2 separate regions of the Homo sapiens genome follow, and region 2 is linked to region 1. The links are contacts of gene promoters, found by promoter capture Hi-C in human tissues and cell types (Jung and others, 2019). All regions are on one chromosome and are shown on one strand. Each heading gives the region's core, a stretch centred on a gene start or on the middle of the fragment in contact. The rest is flanking DNA. Distances are from core to core; before and after follow the strand shown. Region 1 holds the start of MC5R (melanocortin 5 receptor). Region 2 has its middle 70 kb from the start of ZNF519.

Evidence for each region. The method cuts DNA at HindIII sites, captures the fragments that hold promoters and counts their contacts. A contact is called where the count stands out against the background at its distance.
Region 2: a contact is called between a fragment that was not itself captured here and the fragment with the promoter of MC5R in region 1, in 2 of the 25 tissues and cell types used here (dorsolateral prefrontal cortex and lymphoblastoid cells).

Annotation. Positions count from the first base shown.
Region 1 is chr18:13,820,371-13,827,926 of GRCh38, forward strand. MC5R (melanocortin 5 receptor) reads left to right here and starts at 3,779. Exons shown (of 2, transcript NM_005913.3): 1 at 3,779-3,904; 2 at 5,357-6,953. The coding sequence starts at 5,396. The coding sequence ends at 6,373. RefSeq lists silencers at 3,448-3,628, 3,594-3,883, 3,894-3,983. The HindIII fragment of the contact is 21,381 bases long and covers 1-7,556 here.
Region 2 is chr18:14,198,568-14,206,123 of GRCh38, forward strand. It overlaps the pseudogene ANKRD20A5P. Among named protein-coding and RNA genes, the nearest start is that of ZNF519, 70 kb to the left of the region's middle. The HindIII fragment of the contact is 5,032 bases long and covers 1,689-6,720 here.

The DNA.
Region 1 (7,556 bases), core at 2,529-5,028:
GACTGAGGCACAGGACTTGAGTCCTTAGACTGTGATTAAGCACAGATACCACCTGGAAGTCTGGATTCAGATCCTGATCCTGCTTTCATCACCAACTGAGAAGTCACATGACTACTCAGAGCTTCAGCTTCCCCATCTGTAAGATGCTGGGAAGAATGTCGACTTTATAGGGCTGCTGGGAGAATTCACTGAGAATACGGACATGCAGACCACAGTATTGGACACTGCAGGCTCCCAGCAAATGTTCCTTTCCTTTTCTCTAAGTAAGGTGGGAAACTCGTGCATATCTAGGATCGCATTGCCCAATGTTCATGTGTGACATGGGCAAGTGCATCTACATAAATGTGGGCTTGGGATTGAGAAGATTTGGATCAACAGCTGGTGGCACCACTGACCAGCCAAATAGTGTCAGAAACTCCATGAGCCTCAGAGTCTGTGTCTATGAATATGGTAATAATGTTAATACCTTCCAGGGTTGCTTTAAGGACTACGTAAGTTAATATATGAAAGTATTTTGTAATCCTTGGAGTTTAAAAATTGTCATAACCCAGCACTTGTGATTATCTTGCTTTCTCAGCACTCACTTGGGTGAGCTTTGCCTTGCAGCAGGTCTTTTAGTGCCTTCGTCCAGCCCCTTGGTGGTGTTGAGCACAGAGATGACATTTGATAAGAGTTTTCTGGCGCCATGAGAGCGACAGACACAGAGCTGTGCCAGACACCTCAGGGGAGGACCTGCTGCCCAACTGTAGGGGTGGTCTGCTGCCTCCCCCAGCTGTCAGCCCCTCCGGTTTGGCCTCACACCTTCCCGGAAGCAGCTTGCTTCTGGTGACTGAGCTGGGTGGGGCGTGAGGGCTGAGGTTGTTGGAGCTGCCTGGCAGCTCTCTTCTCTCCCTCCCCTCCCATCCCTCCCTCCGCAGGCCTGCCCCCAGGAGGCTTCCCCACAGCATCCTGCATGGTGAACTCTTCAGAGCCTGTGACTCAGAGAACCCAGGCCGAGACATCCAGTGTCCAGCTAGATTTGACCCTTGCAAGCCTTCACAGATATGACTCCACGGGTTGTCTCTGTGCACTCGAATTGAGAATCCTCTCTGTTGTCATTGTTCAAGAAATAAAACACCTGGGTTGTTGCATGTTATGCTGGTCTTTGACAGGGAAAGGAACATTCCTTCCTGGGTGGCTCATGTCATCGTGTGTGTTCAGCATTGTCATTAGGCTGCTGTTTGGGAGAAAGTTTCCAATGACAGGAACAGTTGAAGAGCTTAGTCTCTATTCTCTTAACTCTATTAACCTTAATTCAATTATTTTCCTGCAAGAAACCGAGAATTCCTACATCACCTAAGGTGTTTCAGAATATAAAAATAATCAAAATATTTCCCCAGTTTATTAAACAAAGTTAGGGTAACTTATATACCAAAATCTGATAAAGACAGTATGAAGACAGGAACACTGCACATCAAATCCAGCAGCATTTTAAAAGAATAATGCCCGGTGGCACCAGGGCTCTCAGGGAGGCTGCGTCCTGCCGGGGAAAGTGCTTGGGCTCTGAGTCAGTCGGGGCTCAGCTCTCTAGCGCTGGAAGCTGGAGCTTGCTAAGTCACCTCTCCCAGCACCGGCTCCTTCCATTGCGAGAGGAGAAACCCACTTCTAGGGTTTCGTAAAGGTTGAGGAAGGTAATTCCTGTGCAGCACTCAGGGTCACCCCTGCACATAGGGCCCCTGGGCCAGCCGCCCTCACCACTGTGGGAGGCCGCCTGCTGTGGTCCAGCTGCTCATCTTGCACAGAGCCCTCCATTTTGAGCACTTTCCTGGGACACCAGGACCTTTTGCAGAGCCCTCTCTGATCTGATCTTGGATGTGAGGACTATATGTGGGAGTGCTTGACCCTGCTGATGTTTTCAACACACGGAAATGGGTTCCCTCCCTCACACCACATTCCCAATATGTATTCTCAACATTCAGAACCTCCTTCTAGAATTCCACCCTGTGGCTCCCAGCACGGCTTGGGACTCCAGTGGCGTGAGGCCAGCCAGACTGTGGTCCCCACACTTGAAATACTGGAAGGTTGTGATCATCTGCAAAGCCCAAGGAAAGCTCTGGTAGTGATATGGCCCCGTGCATCCTGCCCTGGCTTGCAGGGCAGTGGCACTTCTGCTTATTGTGAGTATAATGATTCTTTTGGGGGTTGAAGGTCAGTTTTAGGTGTCAGAGAAGGAGTGGGGTCCAGAAACTATTGCGAAAGGCCAGGATATTTGGTGAGAGGACATCCTTTGTTCTTTTTTGCTGGAGTAAGGAAAGCCTGTGTGGTTGATAAAGCCTGGCATGGCATGTGTAGTCCTGGAGGAGGGGTGAGAGCCTTGGGCAAAGAGGGGCGTGGTAGGGCCACAGATGAGGGCTCCCAGGCACTGGGCCTCCTTCCCAAAGAACAATCATCAGGACATCCCAGAGACCACTGTCCAGGAGAAACGGGGTGACAAGCCCTCTTTGAGCTCGGGAGCATTTTAATCAGTGCTCAAGAGGAAGAGAAAAGAAACAAAAAGTGCAACCAGCCAGAAAAACAACCAAGCAGCTACCCACCCAACCACCCATCCACCCACCCACTGACCCAACCAACCACTCCCCCACCCAACCACCTATCCATCCACCCACCGACCCAACCAACCAACCAACCAACCACCCACACAACCACCCATCCACCCAACCCACTGACCCAACCAACCAAACCAAGCAACCACCCACCCAACCACCCATCCACCCACCCACTGACCCAACCAACCTAGCAACCACTCACCCAACCACCCATCCATCCACCCACTGACCCAGCCAACCAACCAACCAACCAACCACCCTCCCAACCACCCATCCACCCACCCACTGACCCAACCAACCAACCAAGCAACCACCCACCCAACGACCCACCCACCCACCCACTGACCCAACCAACCAACCAAGCAACCACCCACCACCCACCCACCCACTGACCCAACCAACCAACCAAGCAACCACCCACCTACCCAACCAACCCCCACTTACCCAATCAACCAACCAAGCAACCATCCACTCACCCAACCAACCACCCACCCACCCAAGCAACCAATCAACGAACCAAGCAACCACCCACCTACCCAACCAACTACCCCCCACCCACCCAAGCAAGCGAGCAAGCGAGCAAGCAACCAAGTAACCATCTACTCACTCAACCAAGCAACCACCCACCTACCCAACCAACCAATCAACCAACCAAGCAACCACCCACCTACCCAACCAACCAATCAACCAACCAAGGAACCACCCACCTACCCAATCAACGAACCCCCCACCCAACCAGCCAAGCAACCAAGTAACCATCCACTCACCTAACCAATCAACCAATCAACCAATCAGGCAACCACCCACCTACCCAACTAACTAACCCGTAACCACCCAACCAACCAAGCAAGCAACCACCTGCTCACCCAACCAACCAATCACCAAACAAGCAACCACCCACCCACCCACTCAACCAACCAACTACCCAACCAAGCAACCACTCACCCAACCAACCATTCAACCGACCGACCGACCGACCGACCGACCCACCGACCCGACCGACCAACCAACCAACCAAGCAACCATCCAACCATTCAAGAGTGTGTTCGGGGGGATTTTCGCTCGGGGCTGACGCGGTTCTCTGGCCGCTGTGCCGTGCTGGGCCACTAGGTGGCAGCGGAGGCCGCCCGGAGCGACAGCCGGCGGTGCGGAGGCGGGCCCGGCGCGGGCAGGCAGGAGGCTTAAAGCCCCGCAGAGCCGCAGCCGCCTAGCTGGGGGAGAGGCCCGTCCGGGGCTGGCTCTGAGCGCCGCACGGCCGTCGGATCCCGGGGACGCCGGGGGCCCGGGCTGAGCGCCGCGGCCCGCGAGGAGGAGCACCGGTAAATAGCCACAACTTTCTATCTCCTTGAGATCCTGAGAATAAATGCAAAATCGCGCTTCCGCTGCATGTGGAAGTGAGCGGGGCGGCAGCTAGCTTGCCCCGTGAGTTTTTAACACAGCTCGATATGATGTTTAGTATAATTGCATAATTTACCGATATATCTGAGCTGGAACTCAGCTGTAACAAATGATTGTAGTTCAATAAATGCTTAGATTACCAATTTTTTCCTTTTTTATTTTTATAGATTTAGGGGGTACAGGTGCTGTTTTGTTATATGGATGTATTGCATAGTGGTGGAGACTGGGCTTTTAGTGTAGCCATCACCCCTATAGTGTACATTGTACCTATTAAGTAATTTGTTGTCCCTCACCCCCTCCCTCCCTCCCAAAGTGATTACAAATATTAATGATGACAGTGATGACAGAAATTCTCTCCAGATGTGATCTGAGTTTGGAGGGCAAAGGGATTTTTGAAAATGAATCATAAGAGAGAAATTTTGCAACAAAGGAGTGTGGTACATTTAAATTGCTGTTTTTTTTTTTAAATACTGTGCTCACGCGGACCTAATAAACTATCAAGCAGACCTCATGGAATTCCACATAATGCAGAAGCGAGGGAAAAATAGGTATTGAGGGAAAAGCAGCACTGTTTTCCTCAATTTTAACACGTATGTGCAGCCTACACTTACAAACTTAAGACAGTAGCTTTTAACATGTGACTTTGCTCAGGGTAACAGACCATTCTGGTTATAGCCTTACTTACAGCTGTGGAGGCTGAATCCTGATGGGTCTAAGAAGTGTCAGGACAAGTGTTAGGGATGCACCTGTCTGTCTGTCTTAAGGGAATACGGGTCTGGGCAGTCTTAAATCGGAGCTCCCTTGAGGAGAATGTCGTGCAGTAGCCTTAGGAATGTGAACATTGGGAGACTGGCTGGGATTTTGTAGGTTATGAGTTGGGGACACTTATGATAGTGAACTTGAGCCCAGGAGAGAAGCCATAAAAAGTGAAACTGTCCTGGGCACTTGGAGGTGAGTGTCTCTCTAGTAAGATGCATGTGAAAGGCTGGGAGCTGAAAGCAAGGAGAGCAGAAGAGGCTGGTGAAGATTCTAATCTGCGTGTCCAGGGGCACTCTTCCAGGTCTCAGGAACGCAGGTCAGAATGTGCAAGCCAGCTGCCGGGCACGTGGCTCACCCCTGTAGTACCAGCACTTTGGGAGGCTGAGAGAGAAGATCGCTTGTGGCCAGGAGTTTGAGACCAGACTGGGCAACATAGGGAGACCCTGTCTCTTAAAAAAAAAAAAAAAAAAGGACTGAGTGAGCCGAGCCCAGTCCTCTGATGCACTGTGTCATTCATCCCCTTTCTTAGGCTGTGTTGGTTCTAGGCTAGCTGCTGTCTTTCTTTGGTAGGCTGCTAACCTCTTTGGATTGTGAATTTAAAACATGTTTTACAGTAAATTTGCTGCCAAGACAAGAGGTGTATTTCTCCAGCAATGAATTCCTCATTTCACCTGCATTTCTTGGATCTCAACCTGAATGCCACAGAGGGCAACCTTTCAGGACCCAATGTCAAAAACAAGTCTTCACCATGTGAAGACATGGGCATTGCTGTGGAGGTGTTTCTCACTCTGGGTGTCATCAGCCTCTTGGAGAACATCTTGGTCATAGGGGCCATAGTGAAGAACAAAAACCTGCACTCCCCCATGTACTTCTTCGTGTGCAGCCTGGCAGTGGCGGACATGCTGGTGAGCATGTCCAGTGCCTGGGAGACCATCACCATCTACCTACTCAACAACAAGCACCTAGTGATAGCAGACGCCTTTGTGCGCCACATTGACAATGTGTTTGACTCCATGATCTGCATTTCCGTGGTGGCATCCATGTGCAGCTTACTGGCCATTGCAGTGGATAGGTACGTCACCATCTTCTACGCCCTGCGCTACCACCACATCATGACGGCGAGGCGCTCAGGGGCCATCATCGCCGGCATCTGGGCTTTCTGCACGGGCTGCGGCATTGTCTTCATCCTGTACTCAGAATCCACCTACGTCATCCTGTGCCTCATCTCCATGTTCTTCGCTATGCTGTTCCTCCTGGTGTCTCTGTACATACACATGTTCCTCCTGGCGCGGACTCACGTCAAGCGGATCGCGGCTCTGCCCGGGGCCAGCTCTGCGCGGCAGAGGACCAGCATGCAGGGCGCGGTCACCGTCACCATGCTGCTGGGCGTGTTTACCGTGTGCTGGGCCCCGTTCTTCCTTCATCTCACTTTAATGCTTTCTTGCCCTCAGAACCTCTACTGCTCTCGCTTCATGTCTCACTTCAATATGTACCTCATACTCATCATGTGTAATTCCGTGATGGACCCTCTCATATATGCCTTCCGCAGCCAAGAGATGCGGAAGACCTTTAAGGAGATTATTTGCTGCCGTGGTTTCAGGATCGCCTGCAGCTTTCCCAGAAGGGATTAAGCACAAAGTGCTCCTCTCTGTGGCTCTGTTCTCCTTTGTTTGCTCACCTATGACAAAGCGACAGCCAAGGGGTAGGCGGGAGTGCTAGCATCCCATTTTTCTCTTTACCAGCTCAGACATGGGCCTAAGAGGCTCTCTCTGTTCAGTTCCTGGTGATTATGTCCAACATGCAAGGGTTGCTTATCCACTCTGGGGACAGTCATGACAATTTCTTACTGTCCTTTTGTGTCCTATGGTTTCTACTGCTCCCACCCATTTCTGGGGGCCCCATCCACCCTCCACCTAGCAGGCATGTGCTCGGGGAATGCACAGCACCCTCAGTGCAAGCCAGACATGATGAAACACGTATTGTGACGCGAAGAAAACCGTGATATCGACGCCAGGTGGGATTGCTTCTTCTCCCCAGAAGCAGGTCCACACTCTGCTGGCTGCACTCTGAGCTATGCATGCTTTTCAGGGAAGAAAAGAGTGGCCAGATTCTTTCCATCAGAAGCAATCTGTTCATTTGTTCTGAAATGTCTTCTTTGCTCCCCTTGCCTGAACTTTTGATTCATGGCTTTTGTTCATAATTGTCTGAATAATTGTACTTCTGTCAATCATGGTGTTGCGCTTACCCAGACATAAAACCTTATGCTAGAAACCCTGCCTCATGTGCTGTGGAAGACTCTGTGACTCTTTCTTACTGTCTTATTTGGGCTCAATCTGGGGTTTCCAAAAGGATGACTGGGGGCATTACAGGGGCTCAAGGAGTTCAAGGTGCCCAGTGCTGCAAGTAGCACACGTCCACAGCCAGGCTTGCTTTGAGTGGCTCACACCGGATCTGTGTTGGAGTCTGAACTCTGGCCTGTGTACTTGGAGGCATGTCAATCTCATTTCAGCAGCCAACAAAGGTCAGGGCCCAACCTATAGCCCAGGGAGCCCCATCTTCTCCCAACCTAGACTGGAGCAGAGAAACCCGAGTTCAGGTGCTAATTCTGCCTTTCACTGCTGTGTGGCGTGAATCATCTTATTTCAGGTTCCACATCTGTGCTGACTGTACACGATGGCCATGAGAACTGCAAAATTGTGTGAGCTTCTTGTAAATTTGTAAAGCACTATAGGGTTTGCTTTTTATTTTAAAGAAATGCTCGGATTAGAGGTGTGAGCCAGAGGTTGCAGTGAGCCAAGATTGCACCATTGCACT
Region 2 (7,556 bases), core at 2,955-5,454, 380 kb after region 1:
ATTCTGGGCTAGACATCCTAATATGTTCTATGCATTTATCATCTCATAAAACCATCACAACAGTGTTCCTATAACCTACTGTTTATTAAATAAACAACTATGGATTAGAGCAGTTGATTAATTGCCTTATAATCTCATAATTAACAAAGTAGCTGGCCTACAGTTTGACCGTCAGCCTGCCTGGCTTCCAAATCCCTTCTCTTGCTCCTCAGCATAGATTGATAGACATCCGTGCAGCACTTGGATCAAGGTATAGGTCTGAATCAGATTAATCAGATTCCTTAATTTAATTAATGTCTAAATTAATGAGAGTTTAAATACCTTAAATACCTTAAACTCTCATTTAAGGTTATTGTTAGAATGTGGTTAGTCGAAGAGTTTGTCCTAATAAATTTGACAATTTCAGTGGTAACCAGTATCTTATTTTTACCATCAAAGCTTTAGGGCAGATCTGACTTAGCTTTGGCCATAGGGCTGTAAGTTTTACAAAAGCAAGTTTAGGCAAGTCTTAGAGAGAAATTATTTGACTTCCCAGTTTGGTTTTCCATTTAGCAAGTATTTCTGCCTGCTTCCATAATACTTTTTTTAGTCTTGTTTCTTTTTCCATGACTTTTCTGTAATCTTGTCTTGATTTTTTAGAACTTTCTTCTCTGCTTTTCTTGCTGTTTCTTTTGTTCTATTATTTTTTCAAATTCTGCTGGGTATGTATTCCCAGTTTTCCTACAGACAGAATCAAGAGGACATAGAATTACAGAATTTTAAGGAATCTTAGAATGAATTAAAATACTTTCTAGTATTTTTACCTGTATTGAACATTCTGGTCAAGTGATTCTCTAGATAGAGAATGTGAGGCTCAAAGAGATTAGGATGCTTTTTTTTTAGACATAGGAATGGGCAGAAATGAGATTTGAACTCATTTTAAGGCCCAGTACTCTTCCTTCTTTTTATATCCTATTTGCATGTGCTTTAATAATACAAATGGGAGTGAGTCCGGTGCACCCAGTGGATAGTATGAGAATGGAATTAGCTGGTGAACCCAATGGAAGTAGATAAGAATGGAATGAGCAGGGAAAGGCCATGTTTGAAGAGAAACAACACTGGATTGGATAGGAGTATGGACTCTTCAATAAGAGATCAAAATATTGGAGTTTATGACAAGTTTGATAAAGAGTTCAAGGGAGCTCTAAAAAGTTTGCTCCTTTTTTTTTAAATCAAGGACTGACAAACCTGAAGAATTTTACTGAAAGATGCTAAAACATTTTGAGACAGTGGGAGGAGTGTCTACAGCAGATAGAAATGTGGTGTCATCTACTTCCATCCTGACTTTCAGAGGGGTGGCTTAGAGCCCTTGGAGTACTAAGGGGCTGGAGATTGCTGGACTACATAGATGTGTGGCCCAGGACAGGTGGCCTCTTCACCTCTGCCTCTGTTCCTGATTCACTGATGTCATTCCCATGTCCATGTAGGCTGGGTCAGGGGCATGATTGGCTGGCAAATCAGTCATGGAGTTCAGTTGGGTAGTTGGTAGTATGTCTATGCTGGGTGCAGGTGATGGAGACTCCAGTTAGCTTGTTTTTCAGGAGCAGGGATATAGAGGGCTCCTACTCCTGGTCATTTGAGGCCATCCTTTCAGGAATCTGTGCTTTCATAGGCTGAAGATTTGAAGATTGGAGACTTCTGTGGAGCCCTGCAGAAGTGGAATCTGGAAGTGGGAGCCCATAGGAAGATAGATACTTAGATAGTACTTAGGAAAATAGAGGTACAACTACCAGGACTCTGTCTTTCTGGCAGTCTCTCTCCTTGGGTGTCTGAGTGCCTATGAAAATTTTTAAGGGCTTGCTAGTTTATGTGGACCTGAATAAAGTAGGACTTATAGAGTGAAAATAATGGGATTTTATAATTATTAATATTTTAATCTTTCTGGGAAAAGTATTCTCAATAAGAACATACACCTTTGTTATTTGATTTTTGTACATGTAGCTTTCATACCTTTCAAATATTGCATGGGATTTCCTGTACCGATTTAGGGCAAAGGAAAGCAATAGGACATTCCTAAGTGGGTTCCATGTTGAGGAATCAAGACTGCCATTTCAAAGTGATACAGATTAGTCTTTTAACCAGAGATAGATCATGGAAAAGAGACAGTGGATCTTTCTACCTTGTTTTAGGTCATCAGTTTTCTTCCAGTTTAGGTAACAAAATTTATGTCATCCATTAATTGAGTTTTAAGTTCAGCTTCAGGACAGATAATCTGTGAGGGCAAATTATTGTCAGGCTCTGCCAATATATTGACTGTCACTATTTGTTATGAAGCTGAAGGTTAGTTTTCATTGAATATTTTATAGATTTAGACAGGTGGAGGCAGAAATTGGTAATTAAAATCTATTTTTAGAACAGAGGACATATTTTAATTATATCAAGAATCATAATTTAATATATAGATCACTGAACTTTCCCCAGATTATTCTTTCCTTTTTTGAGGGGAAAGCTGGATATAAACTGGCAGTTAAAAAATTGTAAAGAAATCAACTTGCTCATTTTCATTGTGTATTTTTGCTCTCAAGCATTTTCCATGAACTGTGTGTGGATTCATTGTCTGCATTGGATGACGAACTCTTGAGTGTTGCTGCTAAGGTAAAGTGGTCTCTTGTAAAATTAATTTTCTCACTCTGAATGTAGTTTTGCATAGTACTTACTTTTCAAACTTAGCAGTGGTTTACCTATCATTGTTTTATGGTGGTAATGGAAAGTGGGTCAGAGAAAAACATATATGTGGCTAGTTGACTGAAAAAATTTGTTTAACTTTGGTAACTAACAAAGATTGATAAGTACTGTGACAGGGTAGGAGCTGAAAAAAATGAACTGGAAAATAAGTAGTGAGAGGAAAATCACATTAGGAAGTGCTTTCTCCAATAGAGGAAATATGAAATTTGATTAAGCTTTATTTGGATAAATACTAATACTTTGACTTTTAAATCATATGAGTGTGACTTTCATAATATTTATGCCTGTATAACTCTTCAGTGGATCAAATTATTTGTAGTAATCATGGAATTCTCCTGGTAACTTTTAGTTGCAAAAAGGTTCAGCACATAGCATACAGCTTTTGTTCTTGGAAACTTATTATTTTGGTATCACATAGTTTTTAGGAGAGATTGTTTCTCTACTTATATTATTGGTTCTGTAGTGAGACTAAAATAATATTAAAAATTGTAGAAAAATAGCTGAGTGTGGTGGTGTACACCTGTAGTCCCTGCTACTTGGGAGTTTGATGCAGGAAGATTGCTTGAGCCCAGGAATTTGAGAACAGCCTGGGCAACATAACAAGACTGTATCTGATTTAAAAATATAAATTGTGGAAACATAGACATTTAAATTTATGTTCTCAAAATTTGTATTGCAAAGGGATTTTTGTGTGTTTTATGAGTTGTCCATGAAGAGTTCATATAAAACACTTCATCTAATTGAATAACATGTATTTTGCTGCAAATAACCAGTTCTAGAAGCAGAGACTCTTAATACCAATATGGTAAGACTTTATCATCATAATTTTGTCATTGTAGTTTATTTAAAATATTTACTTGGCTGGGTGTGGTGGCTCACACCTGTAATCCCAGCCCTTTTGGAGGCTGAGGTGGGTAGATCACCTGAGGTCAGGAGTTCAAGATCAGCCTGGCCAACGTGATGAAACCCTGTCTCTAAAAAAAAAAAAAAAGAAAAAAAAAAAAGCACAAAAATTAACCAGGTGTGATGGTGCATGCCTGTAATCCCAGCTGCTCAGGAGGCCACGGTGGGAGAATTGCTTGAACCTGGGAGGCAGAGGTTGCAGTGAGCCAAGATCGCACCATTGCACTCCAGCCTGGGTGACAGAGCAAGACTACATCTTAAAAAATAAAATAACCACTCAAAGTCCTTATATCCTATTCTGAAATTTTGAATGTCAGAAGGTTTTCTATTTAGTTGTTTAAATAATCATTGGAAGCTCCTGCATACTACAGGCTACTGGAGGTCAGTAAACATATTTGTGTGTATCCTGGAGTACCTAGAATACAGTCTTCCATGTAAAAAGCATTTTACTTGTTGTTTTTTGTGATGGGGTTTCACTCTGTCACCCAGGCTGGAGGGCACTGGTGAAATCTTGGCTCACTCCGATCTCCATTTCCTGGGCTCAGGAGATCCTCACACTTCAGCCATCCAAGTAGTTGAAACAATAGAGGTATGTCACCATAGACCTGTGTCACCATGCTCGGCTGAGTTTTGTAGAGACAGGGTTTTGCCTTGTTGCCGAGGCTGGTCTTTAACTGTTGGGCTCAAGTGTTCTGCCCGCCTCAGCCTCTCATAGTGCTGGGGTTACAGGCATGAGACATTCAGCCTTAATAGTTGTTTAATCTGAATAAATAGACAAATGAATTTTTATATAATGGAATGTTATAAGTAATATAATATACCTAATGTATCTAACAATTAAATATTATATTTAAAATATTGCTTACATTTGTATTATTTTTTAATATTTAAGGGCGTATAAGTTTTGATGTGTTATGTTGATAAATTGTGCCATAATTAAAAAGGAAATAAATTAGAAATAGGTCATCAGTAGCAAAGAGGGTTACAATATATTTTCTAGTATCATTGAACTGGAATCTTAACATTGAGATTTTAGATTAACATTTCTTAAGCTTTTTATTAGTCCCAACTCAGGTTCTATTAAATATACCTTTTCAAGCCATACATTACCCTTTATTATTATTATTATTATGTTTTAAGTTCTCGGGTACATGTGCACAACGTGCAGGTTTGTTACATATGTATACATGTTCCATGTTGGTGTGCTGCACCCATTAACTCATCATTTACATTAGACATATCTCCTAATGCTATCCCTTCCCCCTCCCTCCACCCCACAACAGGCCCCTGTGTGTGATGTTCCCCTTCCTGTGTCTAAGTGTTCTCATTGTTCAGTTCCCACCTATGAGTGAGAACATGTGGTGTTTGGTTTTCTGTCCTTGCTCAGAATGATGGTTTCCAGCTTCATCCATGTCCCTACAAAGGACTGAACTCATCCTTTTTTATGGCTGCATAGTATTCCACGATGTATATGTGCCACATTTTCTTAATCCAGTCTGTCATTGTTGGACATTTGGGTTGGTTCCAAGTCTTTGCTATTGTGAATAGTGCTGCAATAAACATACTTGTGCATGTGTCTTTATAGCAGCATGATTTATAATCGTTTGGGTATATACCCAATAATGGGATGACTGGGTCAAATGGCATTTCTAGTTCTAGATCCTTGAGGAATCACCACACTGTCTTCCACAATGGTTGAACTAGTTTACAGTCCCACCAACAGTGTAAAAGTGTTCCTATTTCTCCACATCCTCTCCAGCACCTGTTGTTTCCTGACTTTTTAATGATCGCCATTCTAACTCGTGTGAGATGGTATCTCATTGTGGTTTTGATTTGCATTTCTCTGATGGCAAGTGATGATGAGCATTTTTTCATGTGTCTGCCATACATTACTCTTTAGAATTCTGGTGACCAATTCTTTTTCTGGGTGGAACGTTGATGGAAAGTTCCAGTTTTCTCTCTCTGTTATAATAATGTTCTTTCAGGTAGTGGTAGATGACCATATTTAGTTAACTGAATGTCTTATAGTAATAAACTCTATCACAGAAGTACTTACAAAAAACTAATTGTAGCATAAATATTAATTAGTATTATCAGGGATATGAAAGACCAGAAGGCTCTGTTATAGATCTATTTCCCCATGTACTTTATTGTACTTCATGTTGTTTCTTTTCTTTCTTGGCTTAAGCTCATATTTCATTGACCAATTAGGCTTCTTTTTTGTTTGTATGTCTCTTCATTCTCACATTTTAAATTGATATTTTTGGGGAGTCAGGGTCTTGCTCTGTTGCCCAGGCTGCAGTGTAGTGGCATGATCTTGGCACACTACAGTCTCCACCTCTCAGGCTCAAATGATCCTCCCACATCAGCTTCCCAAGCAGCTGGGACTACAGGCACACACCATCATGCCTGACTCCTTTTGGTATTTTTTGTGTAGAGATGTGTTCTCATTATGTTGCCCAGGCAGGTCTCAAACTCCTGAACTCAAGCAATCCACCCACCTTGGCCTTGCAAAGGGCTGAGATTACAGGTGTGAGCCACCATGCCTGGGCAACATTGAGATTGATTTAAAGAAATTGATTAGGGCTGGGTGTGGTGGTGCACACTGCTTATCTCAACACTTTGGGAGGCAGAAGTCGAAGATTTACTCAAGCCTAGGAGTTTGAGACCAGCCTGGGCAGTATAATGAGGCCTTGTTTCTACAAAGATAACAATAAAAACATTAGCATGGCATGATGGTATGCACCTGTAGTTCCAGCTATTCAGGAAGTTGAGGTGGGAAGATTGCTTGAGGTCAGGAGTTTGAGACCACAGTGAGCCATAATCAGGCCCCTGCATTCTAGCCCTGGGTTGACAGAGTGAGACCCAGTTTCATAAAAAGAGATTGATAAGAAAGTCTTGATGCAACTCATTATAATTTTAAAATGGAAATTAATTCTTGATATTACCTTAGCAGTGTGTCCCCGAGAAAGTGTCAGAGCCTTTACGTGGACCTTCCCATGGAAAAGGAAACAGAATAGTCAATGGAAAAGGAGAAGGTGAGAACCGTATTTTATTTAAAAAGTCATTTGTTGCAGGCTGGGTGCGGTGGCTCACGCCTGTAATCCCAGCACTTTGGGAGGCTGAGGTGGGCAGATCATGAGGTCAGGAGATCGAGACAATCCTGGCTAACATGGTGAAACCCCATCCCTACTAAAAATACAAATAATTTGCCAGGTATGGTGGTGGGCCCCTGTAGTCCCAGCTACTTGGGAGGCTGAGGCAGGAGGATAGTGTGAACCTGGGAGGTGGAGCTTGCAGTAAACGGAGATCACTCCACTGCACTCCAGCCTGGGTGTCAGAGTGAGACTCTGTCTCAAAAAAAAAAAAAAAGTCATTTGATGGAATGTTTCTTTGAAAATATGAGCACTAATAGAGTCTAATAGCTAAAGAAAATGTCCTATTAGCTGTATAATAAGTAAAGGAGAAGTGAAATGGTGATAAGTTGTGTCTCTAACCAAGGGTCAGCAGTTGATTCTATTGGGAGTACCACTAAAGGAGCTGAGTTGTGAGTTCCATTTTAAGATACTCTAAGACCTAAGGCAAGTCAGGAGAGAGGGAAGAGGAAATGAATAAAAGAGAAAGAAAGATGAGGGCAGAGTGTACATGGAATAAATAAAAACACATATGCAGATGTATGTAATAGAGGGTAGTAAAGTCAAATTGATCTGTAGAAAAAGGAAGAACAGGGTGTTAGAAATAGGAAGGAAGATAAAGTGAGCTTCCAGTACCAACATGTGTCAGAGAATTAGAGTAACATTTTCCTACCCTTGCTGTCATCCTCACTACTGGGGAGGCATTAAGGATTGAGGTATTTTACCACACAGACCTGTGTTTTATCTACCATAGATGAACATCACCATAAATGGTCAGCCATGTATGGCTATAAT